Linked DNA regions of Homo sapiens: regions 1, 3 and 4 are each linked to region 2. Evidence: promoter capture Hi-C in 16 types of primary human blood cells and fetal thymus (Javierre and others, 2016). All regions are on one chromosome and are shown on one strand. The core of a region is centred on a gene start or on the middle of the fragment in contact, and the rest is flanking DNA. Distances in the headings are between cores, read along the strand shown.

Evidence for each region. The method cuts DNA at HindIII sites, captures the fragments that hold promoters and counts their contacts. A CHiCAGO score of 5 or more calls a contact.
Region 1: a contact is called between a fragment that was not itself captured here and the fragment with the promoter of LINC02304 in region 2, in 2 of 17 cell types (activated CD4 T cells and total CD4 T cells). The highest score is 6.7, in activated CD4 T cells.
Region 3: a contact is called between a fragment that was not itself captured here and the fragment with the promoter of LINC02304 in region 2, in 1 of 17 cell types (total CD4 T cells). The highest score is 7.0, in total CD4 T cells.
Region 4: a contact is called between a fragment that was not itself captured here and the fragment with the promoter of LINC02304 in region 2, in 1 of 17 cell types (total CD4 T cells). The highest score is 6.0, in total CD4 T cells.

What each region holds. Positions count from the first base shown.
Region 1 is chr14:99,303,703-99,308,397 of GRCh38, forward strand. No RefSeq gene overlaps it. Among named protein-coding and RNA genes, the nearest start is that of BCL11B, 34 kb to the left of the region's middle. The HindIII fragment of the contact is 5,409 bases long and covers 460-4,695 here.
Region 2 is chr14:97,152,017-97,156,920 of GRCh38, forward strand. It overlaps LINC02304 (long intergenic non-protein coding RNA 2304), which reads left to right and starts at 2,841. Exons shown (of 2, transcript NR_146554.1): 1 at 2,841-3,153. RefSeq lists an enhancer at 2,405-2,574. The HindIII fragment of the contact is 13,309 bases long and covers 1-4,904 here.
Region 3 is chr14:99,402,199-99,406,794 of GRCh38, forward strand. It overlaps SETD3 (SET domain containing 3, actin N3(tau)-histidine methyltransferase), which reads right to left. Exons shown (of 13, transcript NM_032233.3): 9 at 4,318-4,392; 10 at 3,007-3,173; 11 at 2,027-2,112. Among named protein-coding and RNA genes, the nearest start is that of SETD3, 76 kb to the right of the region's middle. The HindIII fragment of the contact is 735 bases long and covers 2,341-3,075 here.
Region 4 is chr14:99,272,946-99,277,288 of GRCh38, forward strand. No RefSeq gene overlaps it. Among named protein-coding and RNA genes, the nearest start is that of BCL11B, 2.9 kb to the left of the region's middle. RefSeq lists a silencer at 1,463-1,662 and an enhancer at 2,063-2,112. The HindIII fragment of the contact is 1,017 bases long and covers 2,580-3,596 here.

The DNA.
Region 1 (4,695 bases), core at 1,914-4,413, 2.2 Mb after region 2:
AAATAAATCTCGATAATTTTCAAAAGACTGATATCTCACAGAGCATATTTTCTGACTAAGTTGAAATTATGAAATTAAATTAGTTTTCAGTAACACAACGAGATGCCTAGAAAAGCCCCAAGAATTTGGAAATCAAACAACCTATGGGTAAAAAAAGAAATTACAATCAAAATAGAAAATATTTTTAACTGATTAATAGCCCAAACACAGCATAAGAAAAGGTGTGAGATACAGGTGTGAGACACAGATACAATGGTGCTGAGAGAAAAACTTATAGTTTTAAAAGCATATAGTATAAAAGAAGAAAGGCCTACAATCTATGCTGTAAGCTTCTACGTTAAGAAACTTTTTTTAAAAGAAGAAATTAAAAGTCAGCAGAAGAAAATTTAAGTAATAAAGAACAGAAATCAATGGAATTTAAAAATCAGATGAACAATAGAGAAAAGAAGTAAAACTAAAAGCTTTTTCTTTGAAAAGAATCGATAAAATTACTAAACCTCTAGCTAAAGTAGTAAAGAAAAAATGACCTATTTCAAGAAGGAAAGTGGGGACACAAATACAGATCCTACAGATGTTAAAAAACAAAACAAAAAAACAAGCAGTGTTGTGCTGGTAAGCCAGCTCTTTGTGGCAGGAGAAAAAGATTTGATTTGTAGTGTTTGCCAATTTCCCTGTTGTAAATGCTCCCATCATGGCTGCTTTCAAACTATCAATGTGACGTCACTGAGTGCAGAGTTAGAAAGGGATATTCACATCAACTCCCATGAGCCTTTATAATCTGACTCCATGCATCAATATCCCTCACAAAAATAGACATAAAATGCCTACCAAAATACTATAAATAACTTTATGCCAATAAATTCAACAAGTTAGGTGAAATACACAAACTTTTTGAAAGACATGTTAGCTCAGGCTCCTATATCCAAATACCATAGACAGGGTGGCTTAAACAACAGACATTATTTCTCACAGCTCTGGAAGATGGGAATTCCAAGATCAAGATGCCAGTAGATGCAATTCCTGGTAAGAGATCTCTTCCTTGCTTGCAGACAGCTAACTTCTCCATGTGTCCTGATATGTTGGAGAGAGAGAGAGAGAGCATGCACACTCTGGTCTCTCTTCCTCTTCATATCAGGACACTAATCCCATCCTGAGGACCCCACCTTCATACCTTATTTAAACCTAATTGCCTCCCAAAGCTCCACTGGGGTTAAGGCTTCAACATATGAATTTAGGGGGTGATATGGTTTGGCTCTGTGTCCCCACCCAAATCTCATCTTGATTTGTAATACCCACATGTCAAGGGAGGGACCTGCTGGGAGTTGATTGGATCATGGGGGCAGTTTCCCCCATGCTGTTCTCGTGACAATGAGTTTTCACCAGATCTTATGGTTTAAAAATGCTTGGCAGTTCCCCCCACCCCTTTTTTTTTCTCTCTCTCTCTCCTGCAGCCATATAAGAATGTGCTTGCTTCTCCCCCACTTTCTGCCATGAAAGTAAGTTTCCTGAAGCCTCCCCATGCAGAACTGTGAGCCAATTAAACCTCCTTTCTTTATAAATTACCCAGTCTCAGGTATTCTTTATAGCCGTGTGGAAACAGACTAATACAGGGAGACATAAACATTCATTCCATAATAACATAATTACCAAACTAACTCAAAGTGACATGATCACAGCTCACCTCAGCCTTGACCTTCTGGACTCAATCAATCCTCCCATCTCAGCCTCCCAAGTAGCTGGGACTACAGGAGCATGCCGCCACACCTGGCTAATTTTTGTTTGTTTGTTTGTTTGTTCTTTGTAGAGACGGGGTCTAACCATGTTGCCCAGCCTGGTCTCAAACTCCTGAGCTCAGGCGATCCTCCTGCCTCAGCTGCTCAAAGTGCTGGGATTGTAGGCATCAGCCACCATGCCTGGCCCTAATAACTATTAAAGGAATTGAATTTGTGATTTAAAAACTCTTCCCCAAAAAAACGATGCCCAGGTAAATACAACTTCACTGGTGATTTCTATTAAACATTTAAGAAGTAGATAGTACCAGTCCTACACAAATTTTTTCAGGAAGTACAGAAGGAAGAAATACTTTCTAACTCATTTTGTGAGGCCTTAATACCAAAATCAAAGACATTACAGGAAAAAGAAACTATAAACCAAATGCCTTAGAAAACTACACAAAATCCTAGATAAATATTAGCCACTTTGGGAGGCCAAAGTGGGCCGATCACTTGAGCCTAGGAGTTTGAGGTCAGCCTGAGCAAAATGGTGAAATCCCATCTCTACCAAAAAAAAAAAAAAATATATATATATATATACACACAAACACACACACACACACACACACACACAAATTAGCTGAGCGTGGTGACACACGCCTGTTGTCCCAGCTACTCAAGAGGCTGAGGTGGGAGGATCACTTGAGCCCAGGAGGCAGAGGTTGCGGTCAGCTGAGATAGCACCACTGCACTTCAGGTTAGGCAACTGAGCAAGATCCCATCTCAGAAATAAATAAGTAAATACACATTAGCAAACTGAATCTAGCAATACATACAAATGATAATACATCATAACCAAATAGGGTTTGTCCCAGAAATGAAAAGTTGGTTTCAGATTTAAAAATCAATCAATATAGTTCACTATCTTCACAGAATAAAGGAGTCAAACTATATGATCATCTCAGTAAATGCAGAAAAAGTATTGAAATATTCAACACTTATTCATGATTAAAAACTCAGCAAACTATGAATAGAAGGGAACTTCCCCATCCTGATAGAGGGTATCTAGAGAAAACCATAGCTAGCGTCATACTTAATGTCAAAAGACTGTGTGCTTTTCTTCTAAGGTTCGGATCAAGGCAAGAATGTTGACTACAACTGAATATATGCATCCCCTATAATTTGCTCCTCAGCAGAAATGTGAACATACTGGTACCAGAAGATATGTTGAAGATTGTTCATAACTGTGTTATTTATTATAGCCCCAAACTAGAAACAACTCAAATGTCTATGAATAATAGAATGGGTACATAAATCATGGCATGGTCATACAATGGAATGCTATAGATCAGTGAGAAAACGTGACCACTGCTACATGCAACAACACGGATAAAGTTCATGAAGCCAGATACAAATACCTACATACTATCTGCTCATTTACACAAAGCTCAAAAACAAGAAAACTAGGCTGGGTGCAGGGGCTCACACCTGTAATCCCAGCACTTTGGGAGGCCAAAGCAAGAGGATCACTTGAGCCCAGGAGTTTGAGACCAGCCTGAGCAACATGGCAAGACGAAATATAAAAAAATTAGCCGGCATGGTGGTGCATGCCTGTAGTCCCAACTGAGGTGGGAGGATCACTTGAGCCTGGGAAATCAAGGCTGCAGTGAGCCATGATTGTACTGCATTTCATCCTGGGTGACAGAGCAAGACTCTGTCTCAAAAAAAAAAAAAAAAAAACAAGCAAAATAGGTCATGGTGATAGAAATCAGGAAAGAGGTAACATCTGAGGGACAGCAATGACTAGATGGGGCTATGAGGGAGCTTCTGGGATGCCAATAATTTTCTATTTATTAATATATGTGGTGGTTACACAAGTGGACTGGCTTTCAAGAAACTCATTAAGTTGTATGGTATGGATTGTGTATGTTCTTCTATGTTCGTTACACTTCAATTTTTTAAATTACTTTAAAAATTATGGTGCATCCACAATATAAAATGCCACATAGCATTCTTTAATAAGATAACTCTCTGTGTATATACTAATTATTAAAATCTCTTCAAATCACTTTAAGGGAAATTTTTTATATATAAGATATAAATTATAAAAATATATAATTTTTTATAACATGATATTAAATAGTCTATTTATTATACATTTAAGAGAGTGTGTCTTAGTCCATTTTCTGTTGCTTATAACAGAACATCTAAAACTGGATAATTTATAAAGAAAATGAATTTATTTCTTAATAATTATGGAGGCTGGGAAGTCCAAGAACAACGGGCTGTATCTGGTGAGGGCCTTCTTGCTGGTGCAGACTTTCTGCAGAGTTCCAAGGTGGCACAAACATCGCATGGAGAGGGGCTGAGCATGCGAGCTCAGGTCTCTCTTCCCCTCCTTTTTTTTTTTTTTTCTTTCTTTTTTTTTTTGAGACAGGGTCTTGCTCTGTAACCCAGGCTGGAGTGCAGCAGTGCCATTTCAGCTTACCACAACCTCCACCTCTTGGGTTCAAGCGATTCTCATGCTTCAGCCTCCCACATAGCTGGGACTACAGGTGCATACCACCACGCCCAGCTAGTTTTTGTATTTTTAGTAGAGATGTGGTTTCACTATGTTGGCCAGGCTGGTTTTGAACTCCTGGCCCCAAGTGATATGCCCGCCTCAGCCTCCAAAAGTGCTGAGATTATAGATATGAGCCACCGTACCCAGCCTCTCCTCCTCTTTTATGAAGCCACCAGTCCCATTCCCATGCTAACCCATTCATTAATTCATGGATGGACAAATCAGTTCATGAGAGCAGAGCCCCTCATGACCCAATCATCTTTTAAAGGCCCCACCTCTCAATATTGTCACATTGGGGATTAAGTTTCAATATTAGTTTCGGAGGGGACAAATATTCAAACCACAGCAGAGAGAGAGAGCAAAAGTGTATACATACATTTTAGATGGATAGATAGATACTAAGTTGATAGTTTTGAATGA
Region 2 (4,904 bases), core at 1,591-4,090:
GCCTGTGCTACCCCTCCCTGGTAGGGGGTGCTGCATCATTTTCACCATGGGGTTCAGGTTGAGGGAGGGGACCCAGCCTGGGACTTCACCAGTCCTTAGGAGGGAAGGAAAAGAGAACTCAGTGGAGCTGTGAGATGACTCTCAAGGATTCTGTTTGTAAGCGGCCTACAGCCATCCTGCCCACGTGTGATCAACACAGTCAGTCACACGGCTGCACCTGAATCTAACAGGGTGGGGGAAAGCATTGTCCTCTCTTGTCTTCTGCGTCTCATGCCTTTAATGCAAGAATCCCATAACGGAGACCCTTCACCCTGTTAAAAGCTAATTACAGCATCAAGTTAAGTTGAACCGTTTCCTTCGATGAATGCAATAGTAGTATTTGTTAGTATTTTGGGAAGCCTCATAGCCTTGCTGTGCCCACAGTTATAACTGGAGGTGCCAATATGTCATTTCCTAAGCTGTGACTCTTCCCTCACTCTCATCCCCTTATCGTTCACCAATCTTCCACTTCAGGTCTCACCTTCAATGTCACTTCTTCCAAGAAGCCCTCTTGGCCTCTACACAGTTAGTACTTCTGGTCTCGCTCTCTGTAATTCTTCTTCAAGGCTAAGCACTTGGCCAACACCCATTTTTTGGCCAGACTAAGGAAGGAAACAGTGTCTGTCTGGTTCAGTGCAATTCCCCCCTGATCATAAGATGAGGCTTAATATATCAAAGGCACTCAAAAAATATTGTTTGAATGAGTAGACAGCTCAAAACATGAACACATAACTCATTCTCAAAGGATATTATTTTCTTATGATGTGTTTTAAACAAACAAAAAAAAGGAACTTTAAATTTCTGTACCCAAACCCTGATGGGCTCTGAGATTTGCCTGTCGTTTTGTGTATTTCAATCCCCTAAATTAGGGATTGTGGAAAGACTGGCCAGGTAAGTTACTGTTCAGATCAGGACCATTTGTGAGAGTGAAGTGTATGTGTGTGTGTGTGTGTGTGTGTGTGTGTGTGTGTGTTGGGGGGAGGGCAGGGAGGTCTGGGGGGTGGAGCTTATCACTAATGCCACCCTCTGGGACAAATCACACAGAACTTGCAAGGTGGAAAACAACACACACACGTACACACACCCTTTCAAGAGTTGTCCAGGCCTATTTTTCTTTTACTGTACCCCAAACTCCCTTGAGCCTTTTGTTTTATGAATTGGGCCCTTCTATTTTACAGCCAGCACCATTTGCACTTACTGCAGAGCTGTATTATGGCCAAAGACTCTTTTTATTTTTTTTTATTTCTTATAGTCCTGGAACATGGCCCCCTGGAGAATGTCACTTCACAAAGCAATGGCCAGTAAACTTGGCTCATGCGTCAGCGAAACACTTCCAACGAAAGTGCATCAACTTCTGTTCTTACACATTGTCGTCTTTCACCTTAACAAGCACACCCCAAAAAAAGTCCTCTGGTTTCTACGGCTTGTTAGGTCTATCATCTTTTTAATTAATAGTGTTTTTACGAAGCCGTCTGAACTGTGTCATTTCCATTATCAGAAACGCATTGCCATTAATGAATAATTTTCATTTCTGATCCCTGGTATCATGCTAGTTGATCTCCTGTTTCCATGCCTTCAAATGATAGCATCGTTTTCTGCCCACGATCAAATTTAATTTGGACTCTGATTATATTATGCTGTTGCGACTGAAGTGTCAATTTTTGTCAGGCAATTAGGAGCTATAACCTGTGAAGTTAAGTTTGATAGGCATTGTAATTGGATTGTTACAGTAATAGCCTGGAACGTTCCTTTTCCTCTTGCTTCTTTGATTCTTGATGCATACTCTCATCGTGAGAACAAAGACATTTGGTTATTATACAACCTTAGGATGTTTGAGACAACAAGATCACAAGTTGAAGTTTTTGCAGTGGAGTGGGCTTCGATGTAACTCGAAGTGTGGGACGTTGAAAGTTTGAGAGATTTGGAAAAAATTAGAACAAAGGGAAAGAAGTATCACAGAAAGCATTGTGTAAGAAGAAGTTAACAGGTCCCCGAAGTTCACTTCAAGATTCCAGATAAGTTGCAAACAAAGATGAATCACAAATAGCTTAGAGTCACCTGAGAGTTCCTCTCTTCCTCCCTCCCTCCCTCCCTTCCTCACTCTCTCCCTCCTTCCCTCCTTCCTTCCTTCCTTCCCTCCTTCCTTCTTTCCTTCCTTCCTTCCTTCCTTCCTTCCTTCCTTCCTTCCTTCCTTCCTTCCTTCCTTCCTTTCTTCCTTCCCTCTCTCCCTCTCTCCTTTCCTCCTCTCCTCCCATTATTCCTTTCTCCCTCCCCCTTTCTTTTCTTTCCCTCATTTCTACTAATTTATTGACACTGGACTAAATACATTAAATATTGTCATGGAAAAGACAAGCCCTCTATCCTCGTGTGGTTCATGGTATAATAGGGGAGAGATGGAAAATGTCACATCAACAGAATGATGTGACGAGATCCTTTAACAGAATACCTGCGTGTATCAGCAGATTCTCACTTGAAGAATGGGAGCTTGCCTGCAATGGGGAGGAGAGGAGAGGAGAGTGGTGCAGTGTGTGGGCACAGCTTTTGCAGAGACCTGGGCACAGCAAGGATTTGGGGCCATGAGGGAGTGGCGAGAAGTGCAGCAGGATGGGTGCCTGTGATGCAGCAGGATGGGCGCCTGTGAAGCCTGTGATGCAGGATGAGCACCTGTGATGCAGCAGGATGGGCGCCTGTGATGCCTGTGATGCAGGATGAGCACCTGTGTTGCAGCAGGATGAGCGCTTGTGATGCCTGTGATGCAGGATGAGCACCTGTGTTGCAGCAGGATGGGCTCCTAGCTGCCCGGGTGGCAGGAGGTGGGGCTGGAAGGAAGTGGGGCAGATCACAGGGAAGGGGGAAGCTGGCCCAGGCATCTGGATTTTATCCCAAAGCTCATGAATGTTAAAAGGCAGGTCCGAGGGTACCCTGGAGGACTTCCATAGCATCTTTATCAGGCCTGATGCCATGGCCCCTAAAACTCATTTGCTTTATTGCTACCCGAATACCCTTTACAAATGCAAATCCGAGCAATGAGCACACTGCCTGCAACCCTCAGGGATCCCGACTCTTACAGTGAAGACAGAGCTCTTCAATACACCCTGTGGAAAGGCTGGCCAGGTAAGTTACTGTTCAAATCAGGACCATTTGTGGGAGTGAAGTGTGTGTGTGTGTGTGTGTGTGTGTGTGTGTGTGTGTGTGTGTGTGTTGGGGGGATGGCAGGGATCTTTAGGGGGTGGAGCTTATTACTAATGCCTCCTCTGGGACAACAGGTGTCCTTGAGGACTGCCCCAGGAAAACCAGGAGGTGGGGCTTGTATCCTTAAGGCCCACATGGTCCGCCTGCGGCCTCTTTTTTTCACCCCTTCTCCCATTTGTCTCCTCCCCAGCTCTCAGCTGGCCAGCAGCACTGAGTTTCTTTTTAGTTCCTCCTACCCCCTGAAAGCTCTCTCTTGCCACAGGGCCTTTGCACATGCTGTTTTTGCTGCCTGAACCTTGGCCCTGTAGCCTCCCATTCATGCCCAGGCTTTCTGGCCACCTGGCTTCCAAGAAGGGAAAGGAGGTTAGGTTTTTCTTCCCACTCCTTCTATCTTTGCATCTTTTGCAAGAGCTGCATCCTTCACAACTTGGGTCCTACCTGATGTCTCCTCCTGTACAGTTTGCCTCCAGTTTCCTGCTCTTGTCCCTTCAGTCCTAGGGGTGACAACCACTCCCTGATGCTTCCTGTCTCTGAGCCCTTGCCATCCTATCTTTGTCCTCTTAACCCTGCTCACCTCTGTTAAGAGTCTTTTCATTAAAGATTCTTCATTTGAACCATCTGTGGCAAATTCTGCTTCCTGCTGGGACCCTGACTACGATGGTGCCTAAAACAAACTGCTGGAGGAGGAGAGAGGTGGGAGCAGAGACTCCCTTCTGGGATAGACCAGGAGGAGCTGACGCTTGTCTCCAAATACAAGAAAGACGTCGGCAGGCAGAGAGGGCTGGGAGAGCAGCTTTCAGGCATAGAGAACAGCATCAGACCAAGATGTGGAGGCAAGAGGAGGGTGGGCTTGTGGGCTAGCAAGGAGTCCAGTGTCTTCCTTCCTTCCTCCTTCCCTCCCTCCCTCCCTCTCCTTTCTTTCCTCTCTCTCTCACTCCCTCCTTTGTTTCTTCCTTTCCTTCTTTTTCTTTCTCCCCTCCTTCCTTCCTTTTTTGCTTCTTCCCTCCCTTCCTCCCTCCCTTCCTCCCTCCTTCCTTTCTTCCTCTCAGCACATACTCCTGGAGCATATACCCCGCTCTGTGCCAGGCACTGTTCTAAGCACTGCATAAATAGCAGCAAACAGACAACTTTTCTGCCCTCATGGATGTTCCATTCTCATGGGGGAAGACTGTTAACAAGCAATGGATGCATTTACACTATGACAAGTGTGTATAATATGACAGTGGAGGAAAATAAAGCCAAACAAGAGAACCACCAATGTGGCATGAGTGATTGGAGGTGTTATTTTACTGGGGGCTTCTCTGATAAGGTGATAGTTGAATGGAGTTCAGAAGGAAGTAAGGGAAAACGTCATTCCAGGCAGAGGGAAGGGCAGGTGCAAAGACCCGAGGCAGGCGATTGCTTGCTGTGTTCAAGAACAGTCAAGAAGCCAGAGTGGCTGGAGCAGGAGGAAAGAAGGCTAGAGTGATGGGGGCTGCTGTCAGAGGTTGAGGTGCAGACTGCGTTTGGTCATAGGAGCTGCTGTCATGAATTGGTGTTTACCCTGAGCTGGGAAGCTAAAGTAGGTTTGTAAGGAGGCAAATGACATCAGCTGGTTGCCAAATGAAAACAGTTTGCGAGGCAAGGGACAGGCGGGACCATTATGTAGGGTGTGGCTTCAATGGTCCCAGTGA
Region 3 (4,596 bases), core at 1,458-3,957, 2.3 Mb after region 2:
CTGAGCTCCACAGTTTAACTTGAATGCCATTTCCTCCAGACCCCTAGAGCACTAAGACTTTTTTCCATGTACTATGTTATCTGTGAACCAGCAGGAGCAATGTGGGATGTCCTGCACGTGGGCTCTGGAGTTAACAGAGGTGGGTTCTAAGTCAGGGTCATCACTTGCTTACTGAGCAACCTCGGCCAAGTTACTTATCCTCTTTGGGTTTTTTGTTAGTTTGTTCGTTTGTTTGTTTGTTTTAGACAGGGTCTTGCTCTGTTGGCCAGGCTAGGGTGCAGTAGCAAGATCACGGCTCACTGCAGCCTCAACCTCCCAGGCTCAATCAATCCTCCAACTTCCCAAAGTGCTGGGATTACAGGCATGAGCCACAGCATCCAGCCAACTTTATACTCTTCCCCCACTCCCCACCCACCTGGGTCTCACTCTGTCACCCAGGCTGGGGTTGGCTTACTGTAGCCTTCACCTCCCAGGCTCAAACAATCCTCCTACCTCAGCCTCCCGAGTAGCTGGGACTAGAGGCACGTGCTACCACGCCCAGCTAATACTTACCCTCTTTGAAGTGGAATCTACATCAGTAAAATGGGAGCACTTCCCAATCAAGGCTGATGGGATTAAAACTGAGCATGTACCAAATGTAGCATCATGCCTGGCGCACAGTGAATGCTTCACAAATTCAAGGAATATCATCACCATCACCTCTCTTAATTATAAATGCCTTGAGTACATGAACTGCAACATTCAATTCTGTATCCATATATATGCAAGAAAAGCTCACAGTTAACCCCTTAACTCGTGTTCATTACATTGAATTGATGAACCATTACCCAAGTACAAAAAGCACCAAAAGCTCCCACTTGAATAACCGTAAATCTAGCGACAGGGTTGCTTATGAGGAACAATGACTGTATCTCAGTTTGGGTTCTGCGGTTGGTGTGTGAACTGCCTCTCCTGTTTCGGGACTAGGTTTTTTCTGCCTCCAGCATGACGTCAAACCCTGGACTTGTGCTGCACTGCTCCCTGGATCCAGACATTAAAACCAAAGCCAGTGACCGCCGAGCACAGCAGCTTCCCCCACATGGGCCATGACTGCTTCCTCCGACCAAGGAAGTGCTTGGGCAGCTTCCTTCCAGAACACTTGTTCGTCTGTTCACTCACTCAAACACTCATTTACTCATTCCTACTCAGACTGTTCTGTACAGGATTTAAGGTAGTTAACAACAGCAAAACATACACACACACACACACACACACACACTCTCTCTCTCTCTCTCTCTCTCTCTCTCTCTCTTTCTCTCTCTTAAAAATGAAACCTCAGGGCCAGGAAATTTGTAAGATACATTTTAGGATGAAAAATAAAAACACAACCACGAGAGGTCAAATCTCAGCATAAGAAACCCCAAATGACTTGTTTTAAGCTAATATAAAAGTAGATGCTCAATACAAATACTTAACTCTTTCTGGGCATGAAATAAGAGGCTGTAGCCAGGAACATTTTGTGTTCTACACAGATTCTGTTTGCAATGTTATTTACTCTAACAGGATGCTTGGCATTAAAATGCTTGCTGGCAATTTCAGATTTAGAATGCAGAGTAGGTTAACAAATAAAGTCCTACGGTCCACGTATGCCACAGCTGACTACACAACATCACAGCATCAACTGATCCTGAACTGCTCTATGTAAGTGAAAAAGACTAGTGCCCCGTGAGTGAAATGAGGCTCTGTCAGGCTACAAATGTAGAATTTTGATATATTTACCCTATCCAAGATGTTTTAAGTTTTCTTCAAATGCAGTTGAGAATTATTTGCGTATTACAAATTAATACTGACAACACATCGAGGATTTAATAAAACATTTCTAGGGTAAAACAAATCTATTTCTTCTTTCTCCAGTATTGTATCTTCTCTCTTCCCAAAAGTACTGTAGTTTTAATCCACTTTACCTTTAATCTGAATCCCTATGCTTTACACTTTCATGATTTAAAAAGAAAAAAGTCAACATCTCTTTTTTCCTGAAATGACTTACCTTCAGTCATACAGAATACTCGGAGAAAAGCCAAAAGCTGAGCAGAGATGGGCGGCTCGGTAAAATGCAATGCAAAAACACTGGAACTGATAAAAGCAGAAAGCAAGATCAGTCACCCTGCTGCGGTTACCCACTTGCTCCAAACTGAGATTCCTTAAGTCTACAGCACGTGTGGTTGTCCTCAAGGAGAGCTGAGCTGGAATGGGTCATTCCAGCTCCTCATCTCAACTGTGAGCACGATTTTCAGCCCCTGCAAAAGGCCGCAGGCTGGGGCGGAGGCAAGCGGACATCCAGAATTGGAGACCATCCTCACAAGCTTTTCCTAGAGCCTAACAGCTGTAATCTCAGGTTGCACATAATACATTCAAAAATTAAACATACACATGGTTTTTAAAAAGTGTTAACAATAATTTATGTTGAGTTCACACTTTAATCATTAATCAAATATTGACAAGTTCAATAAAAAAAAGGTCTGCATAATCCATTTTCATTAAGAATGGTTCCTCTATTCCCTGGAGAACTAATGAATCCTAATTCCTGTCTTCTTTATCATTTTATGCCTCAAATGCAAGAAAATCTTAAAGAACTTAACTAGAAATTCTTGAAATCACTGAGGATCATGACTTCATTACAGAAACTAATGGTAGCAACGAATTAAATGAAACAAATTGATCCAGGCCATTAACCTTTTCAAGGTGAAAGACATGAATGATACGAAAGTAGTTATTTAACTTAATGAGGATTTCAGGCCATATCCCCCAGAACTGACTGTGAATGCGCCCAACGACACAATTATGTTTACCTGAAAACGCTGGTAAGCCACCAAGCGTCGCCATGGCTTAAATTTGCTGTGCCACGGGGATAAACGGATTAAGACAAACTACTGGAGAGAAGTTTTATTAACACACCAATTAAACACTATGCAACTGGAAATAGTTCAAGTACTGCAAGAAAGGGCCAACCGATGTTTTTCTACGTACGTGGGGATGCCGGCACGAGCCAAGACCTCGGCCTTCATGGCGTAGAGTCTGTCACTTTTACTCACTCCAAGCTTTATTTTCACTCTGTCGTGTGAGTTATTGTCAAAGAAAAAACCACTGTGGATCACAAACTCTGCGTTGGATCGAGTGCCATAAAAAATGTAAATCTGAGATGCAGTAAAGAAAAAAGAAAAGGGCATTAGACAAACTTGGCATGTATTCTTAACACAGGGCAGGGCAGAGGCTTAGTGCTACTTTACATTTAGACACTAAATAGCTGAAAGTATTGATACACCTGTTTGGTATAGGTTGCAAGGGTGAAGCTGTGCAATTTTCCCAACTTTCCAAACTGTCTGAGACCAAGCACCCACTTCCACCACCGTGTGGAGAGGAGAGGGGAGGCCAGGAGAAAGTACCACCAAAGGCCTTACTAGTACTCAAAGGACCCCAGGTGACCTGGGGTCACCAGGCCTCTATTATAAACCTCTTCTCCTTCCAAAGGACAGCAAGGCTATTACTATAAGACTGTATTTTAAAATTCACCAAGTTCTTCCTGTCCTTTTAATACAGCAGGGTCTCTTCTGGAACTGTAAAGCAGTATCTGTCAGAAACTTATTTCTAGATCCTCTGGCAATTAATCCTGCACCTGGCAGGTGGGTTTATAAACTTTTCTGAAGAAGGAACAGATCAGTACTTTGCTAGGCAAGTATTTTTCATTTTGTCTCAACTGGAATGTCAATTATGGATGTGAGTTCCATGACTGTACTGTCTGCTTGGGTGTAGACTGATAGAATGTAGGAATTTATAGACACGTATTTTCAAACTCACCCAAAGGCTTACCCCTCCTCCCACCCAAACTACTAGATTAAAAAATCAGAGATTAAAATGAAAGTATAAGACAACAGATTCCCTTGCTTTTGCCCCTTAAATACTCTTATAAAGTTCTAATCAGTAGAAAAAATAAAGGCAACAGTTTATGAAATGTTAAACATTGTTTAGTGTCATAACACACTTTATTTTCAGTTAAGAGTGTTACAAATATTTACAAATATTAGGCCAATTGTGCAACTAACTGTGTTTAAATCTTTTTCTCTGTGGACCCAAAGCACAATGCAAAGCACAAGTGAGTAAAGCACAAGTGAATATGTGTACTACGGGTTCTGGTCTCAAGATGTGTTCCAGAAAAACAATCCTCAATGTGAATTCCACATTTTTTCCCCTAAGTTAAGTTCCTTTTTAAGATTACCAACACGGTGTTAACGTTAGTGCCCACTGGCTGGCTCACATTTTGTGAGATGCCACGAGACCCACCTGCTCTCCAGCCCGAAAATCCTGCAGAGCCACACACTCACAGCGGTCATCTTCCAGGTTGTAACCAGTAGTGATCTAGCCCGGGGAGGAGGAAGGAAATGATGGTGAGGCAAACACACGCACATCTCACTTAATCTACAAGCTTGTTTCTGGCAATCAGAGGAAAAAGGGGATCCCAAGGTACTCAAAAGGTGGCATCTGAATGCTTTGGAAAATGGGGCAAAGAACTGCTTGAGCACTGAGGTTAACTCTAGTTATATCAGAGATGATTATGGAAAA
Region 4 (4,343 bases), core at 1,838-4,337, 2.1 Mb after region 2:
GGTGAGAAGTGTTTGAGACCTTGTTTGAGTCCCACTTGGAAAAGGATTTTCACTCAAATCTTTGTCCCCTCCCCTCACCTTACCCCGATTAACTCCTGGGGTCAAACACGACCCCACCTCCTAAACTGGGTCTATGGCAAGCGAGAGGGTAAAGGGACCGGGGCGCTCCACGTGGGAGAGGGACTTGGACTTGCCAGCCCAGGAGTAGGTGTGGCCAAATCTCCGCAGATACTCGGGTGGGTGACTCCAGGAGGCGCCCCTGACAATCACAGCAACCTGGAAGTCACACCCCGCCCCCCGCGCTCCTCGGCCCAGGGTAGGACTTGGAAATGCCTGTCAGACTGGGAAGGACGCAGCTGCCTTGTCAGCCGTTTGATCTCCAACCGGCGAGGACAAGAGGAGTTGTGGGGCCTCTCCGTGGCCCGGGGACAAGGCCAGACCACGGCCCCCGTGGACACCCCCCATTCCCCAGGCTGTGGCCAACTTTGTCAATTTGATGACCTGGCCTCCAGGGCTGGGCGCGCCACGCGGCTGGCCTCCTCTCCCTTCTCAGGGTTTCTCTGGAGGCGGCCAGGGCGGGTCGGGGCCTGGCTCCGGCTAGGCTTCGCGGGCGAGTCCAGCTGCACCCACCCCACTCCGCCCCCAGGCCTGGCTCCGGCGGCTTCACCCGGGCGCATGGCGAGGCCGTGACGCCTCAGCGCCGCCTCCCTCGGGGCCTTTTCCTCGGGGGGCACACGGGGGTTTTTGTTTTCGTCCCGAAGGTCTTGGGTGGGGCGATGGCACCAACAATTTAACAGCGCCCAGAGTCCGTGAGCGAGAACAGAAAGAGATCCCTTCCAGTCCCATACCCTAAAAAATAATAACAATAAAATGTGCCCTGGCTTGCAGTTCTGTAAACTGTGGGCTCCACGGTGGGCGGACGCGAGGCCGAGCGGATGGAGACCGGGGGCGGGGCGCGGACTTGCACCTCCTCGCCCTGGCCGGGCAGGCTGCACCCGGCTGCCCACCCCCAACACCCCACCTCCACGTGGTCCAAAGTCTAGTAGGGCCTCCCTCTTCTGCCATCCCTCTCACCGGGAAAATCTTTCCAGGAAAGTGGCTTAAAAAAAATATGCCCACACGCACCTTTAATAAACTTCTTTAAGACATTCATAAACTGGCCATCCCTACTCGCCCGGACTCTAAATTTGAAAGATCAACTCGCGCTCTCTTTCTGAGAACTAGCGATGTGAAGCCCAGAGAGGGTGAGCACTTTGCCCTAGGACACACAGCGCGTCAGGGACAGGTCTGGACCCAAAACACCGCGGCGTGCCTGCAGCCCAGCGCCGCCGGCGGTCCGGGACTCGAAATCCCGACCCACGACCCTCACCTTCCTGGGGTTGATTACAAGGAAGGCAGACCCCGCCAGTGGCAAGGCGGGACGGGGAGGACCCCTCAGGAAAAGGGAGCCCCTCCGCGAGCGGCGCAAGGGCTCTCGGAGTCCCAGCTGCAGCCGCCACCCCGCGTGCGGTAAGGGGCCGTGCCTGGGGAGGGGGCACCCCCTCCCCACTCCCAGCAGGAAGTAGCTGGCGTGGGCCGGCGCGTGCCCCACGGACCCGAGGAGCACTTCCTCATTGGCCCCGCGCTGCCCCGACGGCGGGAAGAGGGACGCGCGGGCGGGCGGACGCAGGGCCGGACACGCCGCCGCCCGCCGGCGCGCTCCACCTCGCGGCAGCCGGGGAGAGGCTGCTCTGCCCCTGCCCAGCCTTGAGCCGGCCCCTTCGCCCTCCTCCTCCCCCTTTTCCTCCGCATCTTCCTCCCCCTCCTCCTCCTTCTCCCCCTCCTTCCCCTCCTCCTCCTCCTCCTCTTCTCCCGAGAGGCGGCCGGGCGCAGGCAGGGAGCGATCCCAGCTGCCACTCCAGTCTCCTCTTTTTCCCTCTGCCCGTCTGGCACGGGCCTCATCAGCGCGCAAAGCTGTTAATGTCTGGTCTCACAGCTCCCCCTTTAGTCTTGCTGCGCTCCATGTCTCACGTTCCAAGCCGGATCAATAGCCGCCTCTCGGCCGACCTTGACCTCTCCCTCGACCCTGCCAGGCTTCCGCAGCTGGCCCCGTACTAATGTTTCCCCACTCTCTAGATGCCCAGACAGCAGGCGGGGCGGGAGGGGGGTGGTCGACCTCGGCCCACAGCCATGTACCCACCCCTGCCTCAGCACCCCAGGCAGGCGAGAGGGGGCTTCAGGACTCTCCTGAGAAGGTCACTGCACCGCCCCACCGCACCCCACCCCACCTCTTCTTCACCAAACCTTTGTTTAAAATACAAGTCACTCCTGCCCCCTCCCCACCCCCAAAAAAGAGGGTGCAGGTGGCTCACATATGAAAATGTAAAAGGAAAAAGTGTGGGTCCAAATGTGGTCCTGAACTAATATCTTAAAACCAGGTTCATTTCTCTAGCACCTGCTGCAGACCTACTGTGTGCTGGGCCCAAAGCTGGGGCTTTGTGCATGCTGGAATCACATGGAAATAAATGCCACCTTTTCTGCACTATCTTTACACACACACACACACACACACACACACACACACAGAGCAGATGTCAAAAAGCTTTTTGAACTCACAAATATTTCCCTGCTATTCTTTTTCTAGCTTCACAGTGCATTCCAGCAGATAATCCTCCATATTCTCAGTCACTTTAAATTTCTTTATAGAGGAATAGTTCAGAAATCAGAAATCATTTCATCAAATCAGAGTGCATTTTTATTAACCTTATGTGGGGCTTTAATTCCCTGTGTGTGCTGCGTGTAACACACCATGCAGTGGGGGCAGATTAAACAGACACGTGACCCCCAAGCCAGGCTTTTTGTTTAAAATTCTTTGAACGATTCTCAATACTTAACTCAGCTGAGGTTGGACTCTATTCGAGATCCTACAATGTTATCTTTGCCTTCTGAGCTGTTATATTTTATCTCTTATGTCTTTACAAAAATTTGGAAAGAATCAAGATAAGACGTGTCAGTAGAAATGGGAAGTCCTAATGTTTCTGCAGAAAGAAAACTGACATTTCATTTGTTTTTGTTGTTTTCTTTTTAACACAGATCCACCCTCTGAAACGCAGTCAACTTTGTAGCAATTCAACAGCACATCTTACCAAATTACTTTGGGCTTCATTTTTGGTGCTTTAAAACAAAGAAGAAGAAGAAGAAGAAGAAGAAAACCATGCAAAGAGAGGGCAAATCGTTTCATATTCACAGGTATAGGGCAGACTCAGAAGCAACCCCTGTCTGTTCATTTCTATTCCTCCGGATCTATAAGTGTTATTGACTGAGAAGATGAACATGAATACGATGTTCCGATCTGATCAGTGGATGGACTTATTCTAACTTGTGAGGAAACCACAGTGGAGGCACCAAGCAAATCATATTTATGTACATATTAATAAGGCTCCCAAGGTGGTCCTTATCTCTTTCCTTACAGTTCTAGAATCTTTAGCAGCTATCAAATCCAGAGGCATAAAAAGACAAAAGAGGCCTTTTGGGCTTCCTGCTGTATCTTCTAGAATTATTTTATGTCATTTCTGAAAATTACAGCAAATTTCTGGGAGCCATAAGCACTCAATTAAAGCTTTGCTGGATTTAGAGGAGTTTTTCACGTTGTCACCTGATAGCAGAGTCAGGACCACAAAACTTGCCTTTCAACAGTTGTTTGGTTGATTCTTTTGGTGTACTGAATTTAACAACATTGCTTTTGTTAAAACATGACATCATTGGCACCTTATTTTTTTCTGCAAGTAATACCTGGCCTTGATACAGTAGTACATTTCTGACCATTGCTTAACTGTATAAGGCATAGGTAAGCTGTAGGAAAACTGAGGCATCATTGCCGGCTGCCTTTGTATCTGCAGCCTGCAAGGGGTTAAATAAAATTCACTGTTCCTGATTCATGTATTATTTTCCTTAAAAAATACTTACCCAGCTCCCCGTATATGAAAAGGACTCACACCCACATTGAATGTTCCTAGCTCTGTCCCTGTCATCAGAAATGATATTGAATGGCTCAGTACTAGGGGATCTGGAACTATTTCTACAGCTTTCTCACCTCATTTGGAATTTTCTTGTCTTGCTAATTTTAATTCTTTAGTTGAGTCATCAATTCAAATTTGGTAGGGACTGGCATCACCCAGTTGGTCGACTTGGGAGAAATATCGTTCATGAAGATGATCAGACTGCACCAAATTCCACCCCCACCCCTCACATATACAGAGATCCGAGCGGCTGTGGTGTGAGTGCACGTGTGTGTTTGTGTGTGTGTGTGTGTGTGTGTGTGTGTGTTATGCAAAAGGGTCTCTCTGCTGCTTTCTCTTTTGTCA